2 separate regions of the Homo sapiens genome follow, and region 1 is linked to region 2. The links are contacts of gene promoters, found by promoter capture Hi-C in human tissues and cell types (Jung and others, 2019). All regions are on one chromosome and are shown on one strand. Each heading gives the region's core, a stretch centred on a gene start or on the middle of the fragment in contact. The rest is flanking DNA. Distances are from core to core; before and after follow the strand shown.

Region 1 (3,548 bases), core at 18-2,517, 1.6 Mb after region 2:
TTGTCCTAAAGTTTGTACTTATTAAAATATAGCATTATGGTTCAGATCATGTGCTCTGGAATCTAAAATCATTAGATTTAAGTCATCTCTTACCCAAGTATTTAGCCATCTGACCTTAGATAAGTGGCATAGTTTCTCTGTGACTTAGAATACATATCTATGGATTGAAGTGAAAAGACTGAATCACAGAATAGCAAAAATGACACATGAAAATCATCTTCATTCAGTGATTGGCACACAGCAAGTTTTTGTCAAATAGTGCCTTTCACTACCTCATCCGAGCTCCTTCTCATGAGGGCCATTTGCAGAGGAGCAAGGGGTGATAGCATGCCATGCTGCCACCAGGAGAGGGCAAAACATGGGGTGGGCAGCAGTGATGATCTCCAATTGTTCCTGAGATCAGCGATGAAAGGAAAACACCACGAAACTGGTCATTAGAAACTGGAAAAACTTGGTCCAAACCTGTTTCTGACTTTTACCCCAGACCTGCTATGTTATACTCCCAATTTATTCTAATTAGCTATGTACTCCAGGCTTTCCAAAAGTGCAGCGTTTGGATAGTGCCAAGAAACACAAGTTCTGTGGTGATTTCAACAGAACCAGGTACGCAGAGGAAAAAAGTTTTCTCAATTGGACCTGTGCGTTTATTTCAAAGCAGCAGATTAATTAGCTTTATTGATCCTTTTTGTGGCTGTATTAGAGGAAAGAGGAGACTGCATTTTCCAGATGTGCATGTTTAATCCTTAGTAAATTTTATGTATTAAAAAATGTATTCTGTTGTTTTAGAACAAAGCCCCTCAGTTTATCAGGGGGTCACCAGATGTGAATGTATAAACCAGAGTTAAATAATTGGAGAATAGATTTAGTAGAAAGTTGACTGTATTTTATAATGATTATTATTTTTAACAAAGTAGGTTTTGAAGTAAGGTATGTGAAGGGACTGAGCATCTTCAGAATGGGTTGCATTTGTGTAATAACCTCATTGCTCATTAAACCATTACAATGTTAAGTAGCCTGACAGCAAGTTCCACTTCTAGTAAGTATGTGCTATTGTTCATATCTGCACTAGAGTAAACCAAGGATTATAAAAGTCATTGAACTTACACGTTTTCCCCAAAATGTTAAGCTTTATCTCCATTAAGTCACACATCTTTACTTGCCATGACACAGCTGATTTTAAAAATTTCAGTATCTATTATCTGAGAGGCAATATGCATAGTAGCTGTATTTAGGGCAATTGAAATCAGATAAATATCTGTTCAAAATCTAACTCTGTCATTGAAGTCCCGTGTCATCTTTGAAAACTTACTTAATCTACAAAATGAGATAATTTATAGAGATGTTACCACTAAAAATAATACAAGTAAATCACTTGTCAGTATACCAGACGCAAACTAAATACTCAAATGACAATTGCTATTTTCACTTCGGCCATAGAAAACCATACCGTTGAGGGTTTGCACCAGAATTCTGGTGATGGCTCATGAGTTGGGAGTGGAGACAGATACCATATTTCATCACATCTTATACCATCTACTAATAAGATGCACCATTATTTAATATGCCATGAAGAACAACAATGACAAAATACAAAAATAAAAAACACTGCAAATATAAATTTGTCCAAAGCCATAGAATGGGCAACACCAAGAGTGAACCCTAAAATAAACTTATGAACTCTGGGTGATGGTGATGTGTCATTGTAAGTTCATCAAGAGTCATGCCTGTAATCCCAGCACTTTGGGATGCTCAGGCAAGAGAATTAATTGAGCCTTGGAGTTGGAGACCAGCCTGGGCAATATGTTGAAATATTATTTCTAGATAAAATAATACATTGGAACAAATGTACCACTGAGGTGCAGGATGTAGATAAGGAACGAGGCTGTGTATTTGTTGAAGCAGGGGAAATATGAGAATTCTCTGTACTTTCTGCTCAATTTTTCTGTGAATCTATACCTGCTCTAAAACAAAGTATTAATAAAAATAAAATAAAGTCACTATAATTAAACTATGACAATGCATTCTTACCACTTAGAATTGTTTCGTACATATTTTTTAATTTTTTTCACGTATTTTGAAAGAAACATTTCAAGTACACAATGATTTTTAAGTGTGTTTTATAGTGTTAAAAAAAAGCAGTAATGGTATTACTAAAAGTTCATCAGGACCCAGCTCTTCTCAATCACTTTTTTTCCCTTGGAATCATCAGTCTATGTTTCATTACTTTTCCTACAGAGTTTTCATCTAAGCTCATTTTGAAAAGTTTGATGCTAGTGCTGTCTAACCTGAACCAACTCAGTTTTGTTTCTTTCTCTATGGAGTCACAGGCTGCTGAAAGGGAAGGAGCTTCTGTTCAAAGTTAACAGGAAGTGGTAGTCCTATTGTTTGATGTGTGGCCAATACACCTGCTGAATCAGTCATACCAGTCACTCATGACCTTGAAATTCCTTTCTTCTATTCTGAGGGATAGGAAAATTTCTCCTGAAGCTGGTAGCACAGCTTGGCACATGGCATCAATACATTTACCACTAGTCATGCACATGGCTTAATTGAAGTGATGACAGTCATGGCCATGATGGAGCACAAGCCAAGTGAGGACAAAAACAACCGAGTGGGGGCTGCCACACACCAGGCTGATGGCACACCAGGCTGATCAGCATCCATTGCAAGATAATTCTCAAAGTCAGAGATATAAAAATGTGAAGCAAATGCATTTTAAGAATCATAAGGCCAGGTGCAGTGGCTCATGCCTGTAATCCCAGCACTTTGGGAGGCCGAAGCAGGCAGATCACAAGGTCAGGAGATCGAGACCATCCTGGCTAACATGGTGAAACCCCATCTCTACTAAAAATACAAAAAATTAAAGAAGCATGGTAGCACATGCCTGTAGTCCCAGCTACTCAGGAGGCTGAGGCAGGAGAATCGCTTGAACCTGGGAGGTAGAGGTTGTAGTGAGCTGAGATCGTGCCACTGCACTCCAGCCTGGGTGACAGAGTGAGACTCTGTCTCAAAAAAAAAAAAATCATAAAATATGAAAACTCAATAGACTAATTATTAAGGAAAAACATACCCTCTCTCATAAAAATAGCTAACCAGGTCCCTTCTGCTAGGAATTCATGAATTCACTGCATAACCCCTGCTTTCTTTGAGAGGTGATCTTTGCCACATGCAGTGTTAACAGCTCTGAAAAATCTCCTGCCTTTTACACTTCTGCCAACTTAAATTCCAACTTCATCAATTATTGCCTTTTGCCAAAATAATGGGCAGCTAAGGAATACAGTTTTCATAGATAGTCAATCTCAGGCTTAATTTTAAAAGGCCCTGAAACGGGACTCTCTGAGGGTGGGGGGGTGCTGGTAATATGTTCTTCTTCTTGATTCAGATGTTGGTTACATAGGTATGTTCACTTTGGAGAAAAAGAAATGAGGCTATGTACAAATCTTAAGTTTACATAGAAATGATTTTTTCCCAAAATGAAGACAACCAGGTAGCTAAGCTGTGATACATGTACTTTACTGCATGCATACTATAGAATTCAATTAATAGTT
Region 2 (3,587 bases), core at 946-3,445:
TACTCTATCTCCATCACTAACGATGTATAGAAATATAATATCCAGTATAAGAAGAGCTGTGGTGGAGGAATGCCCTGAGTGAAGCAGGGGGACAGAAGTGGGAGCAACTAATTGCCTGGAGGAGTCAGGGAAGGCTTTCTGGAGGAGGTTGCATTTGAGTTGGGCCTTGAAGGCTGAGTGAGGCATTCACCACCTGGAGAAGAGAGGACAGGCACTTCTGGCAATGGCACAGGAATGTACTCTGGTGGGTGGGCTGGCAGGTGGGAGCCAACCAGGCAGAAGAAGCAGGTTGGGGCCAGATTGTGTTGGGTTTGGACAGCCACGTGGAGAGGCTAGGCTTCTCCAGCATGGGAGGTGCCCCACTGAAAGACCGCAATACAGGCCTGTCTGATCCAGTGGCCAGGAGCTTTGAGCGCTTGAAATGTGGCTAGTGAAACTGAAGAATTCTAGATTTTGTTTAACTTTAATTAAAATGTAAACCCCGATTTCATTATTGAAAAATTTTTGCAGAATGTTTGAAACAGTACAGGCATGCGAATCGATTTTCACATGTACATTTTATGAAATCTAAATGCAGAACAAGCATTTCGGATGAAAATGTGGGGTCTGAACTGAAATATACTGTGGGTATAGGAAGCACACTGGATTTCAAACTTGAAGACTGTACAATAGCTCATTGATAATTGTTTTATATTGCTTACATGTTGAAATAATACTATTTTAGATATATAGGGTTAAGTAAGAAATATCAGGAACATTAATTTCACCTGTTTGCTTTCGCATTTTAAAATGTGGCTGCTAGAAAATTTTAAATTCCTTGTGGTAACAGTATCCCTATTGGACAGCACTGGCCTGAGATTCCAATGCTTTCAGTAGGATCTGAGAGGCCTCAGACACTGGCCTCTTAACAGCCCCTCCAGTGACTCAGATGCTGGTGGCTGGGGACCCTTCTTGGAGGAATTCTGCTTTAGAAAGGTACCTCTGAGCCAGTTGTGGAGTCTTGCACCTGTAATCCCAGCACTTTGGGAGGCAGGAGGATCACTTGAGCCCAAGAGTTTGATACCAGCTTGGTCAACATAATGAAACCCAGTCTCTACTAAAAATACAAAAATTAGCTGGGCATGGTGGCACTCGCCTGTGGTCCCAGCTAATCAGGAGGTGGAGGAGGGAGAATCACTTGAGCCTGGGAGGTTGAGGCTGCAGTGAGGCGTGAGTGTGCGACTGCACTCCAGCCTTGGGGACAGAGAGAGACTGTCTCAAAAAGAAAAAAGAAAGATCCCTCTGGGTACTGGCTGGAAGTTGGATTGAAGGTGTGGGCCTGGAGGCAGCAGGGCCGCTAGTGTCACCAGGAGGCGAGGGAAGAGGCCCAACTTCAGACGCTGAGAGACTCCCTGAGGGCTAGACAACCCCGAGCTTTCTCTTCGAGGGTCCCGGGTGCCGTCTGCCCTGTCCTGGCCACTAGACCTGGGGTGAGGGGGTAGCTAGGGGAGGGCTGGGCATGGCCCTCGGCCTTGGGGACAGATATTGGGCAGTGCTCTGGGGGAGTGAGTGTACCTCGAGGGGCTGCCGGCCCTGCTGGAAGCTGCCCTCTGGGGATTAACCCTGCACCCACTGGAGAGACCGCAGAAATGCCCCTTGGCACAGAAAGGAGCCCAACTTGGCCGCCCGTTCCTGTTCCTCCCAGGGTGAGAGCCAGGAGTGAGTGGCAGGAGCGTCACAGTAGTAAGGAGGGATTTTCTTTGTGACTCGCTCCTCCTGCCCTGATTAGCACTTAGGTCATGGAGATGAGGCTAATTTTTTGCTCTTGATTTTGCTAAAGATCCTTCGGTGATTTAGAAGCCTTTTTTTGGGGGTGGGGTGGGGTTGGGGGGGTGATACAGAGACAACAGAGCAACAAGTCTCTTTTCAGGGAAACTGTGTCTGCAGCAGATACCCTCCCCTGCCAAGCGCCCACGTCTCGCAAACCTGACACTCTCCGCCCGCCGAGGCAGGCCTGCAGAGCCTACCTTGACTATGTCCTCGTTAATGTTCTTGGGGTCTCGGTTCACCAGGTCAATCTCCTTGCAGTGGATATCCTTGACGATCTGGGCCTCGAGATCTGTGTGCTCTTCTGCCATCATCGCAGAGCTGGGGGGATCCACAGGAGGAGATCCGAGCTGTGTGGCCGGCTGGGGCTGAAAATACTTGGGGCAGAGAGACCAATTCAGTGTCCCCAGACTTATGTCCCTGCCAGCTAAATAGGCCCCACCCAGCATGCCGGCTGACAGCTGTCCCACATAACTTCAGCCTGCCTCTCTCTAAAGCCTCCTGTGGCAGGCCTCCAAGCTAAAATTAAGACTGGAGCTCTTCTGGAAGGCCGATCGCTCCTTAAAGGGGGCTGCCTCAGGGCACTGGGCCTCAGGAGAGGGTGCAGAGGGCCTAGCGTTTCCTATGCATCGTGTGGCTGTGGCCAACTCGGCGGTCGCTCCGGGGCCCCTGGAATTTGCCCCACTGCTGTCAGCATTTTGGCTCCTTTGGGGTGCACTGCCCGTGGAGGGAAGTGGGGTTAGTCCCTCCTCTGCCTCTGGCTGGCTGTGTGACCTTTGGCACACTTCACCTCTCTAGGCCACTCTGTCCCCATCTGTAAAATGGAGAGATGATAATAACAATCAGGGCTCTCCTACCCAGGGAATGGCTTCAGGAGCTGGAATGCGATGTAGTGGGGCTTCTCGTTGGATTGCCAGTGCCTGGCCCTGCTGCTTGGTGACCTGGAGCAGGTCCGAGCTTTGTGGGTTTCTGAGGTTTCCACCTGGAGCAGGAGTTGATGGACTGTGGTGTGGGGCCAGGCTGGGGATGAAACAGGGAGAGGAAGCTGCTGTGGGGCTGCCCCTCGTCTGCCGTCTGGAGCCTGCACTGGGATATGCCCGGTGGGGGGAACATGAAGTCCATGTTCGTGCTACCCTTCACCCTGCCCTAGTGACAGCTTCCAGGATTTTCTTGGGTCCCAGACACTCCACATGCATCAGTGGGGTGCACCTCTCTTAGATACCTGCTCGGTTTTTCTGTGCCCTCTTCTAACTCAGCCTTCCCCTGGGCTCCAGCAGCATGAAGGATGGCAACTCTGAATCCTCAGGGGTCAGGGTCTGTGCTTCCATTTACCTGTCTATTCACTCCTTCATTCAGGATTTGCTAATAGCTGGGGATAAACAGACCAACAAGGCTCTGTCCGCCTTGAAGTGCTCCCAGTCAAGGTGGGGAGACTAATTAAAACAATAAGTGATTATAATACTGTGCGGTAAGTGCCACAGATCAGAGATATTTTACAAAGAGCTGGTCTTAGAAGTCCATAGGAGTCAGTAACTTACTCTGAGGACACCGGGGAAGACTTCCTGTGGGAGGTGGCTTTGCAGATAGGTATCGAATGACAAGCAGGAGCTCAGCACCTAGAACACTTCAAGTTACAGGATTGTGGATATTGAGGAGTGGTATAGACAGGAATGTTGAAAAGTGTGGAGTGGCTGGAGCACAGGGTGTCTGGGGTTGAGGCAGGAGATACAGCTCAGCTCAGGCCTGGGTGTGCAGCATCCCAAATGTCATACTAAAGAATG

Evidence for each region. Contacts are between HindIII fragments. The study calls those that stand out against the background at their distance.
Region 1: a fragment that was not itself captured here is called in contact with the fragment with the promoter of CAV3 in region 2 in 1 of the 25 tissues and cell types used here (dorsolateral prefrontal cortex).

The regions. Positions count from the first base shown.
Region 1 is chr3:7,111,704-7,115,251 of GRCh38, reverse strand. The region is part of intron 1 of GRM7 (glutamate metabotropic receptor 7); the gene reads right to left. Among named protein-coding and RNA genes, the nearest start is that of GRM7-AS2, 220 kb to the right of the region's middle. The HindIII fragment of the contact is 7,713 bases long and covers 1-3,548 here.
Region 2 is chr3:8,732,410-8,735,996 of GRCh38, reverse strand. CAV3 (caveolin 3) reads right to left here and starts at 2,195. Exons shown (of 2, transcript NM_033337.3): 1 at 2,007-2,195. The coding sequence starts at 2,120. The HindIII fragment of the contact is 9,052 bases long and covers 1-3,587 here.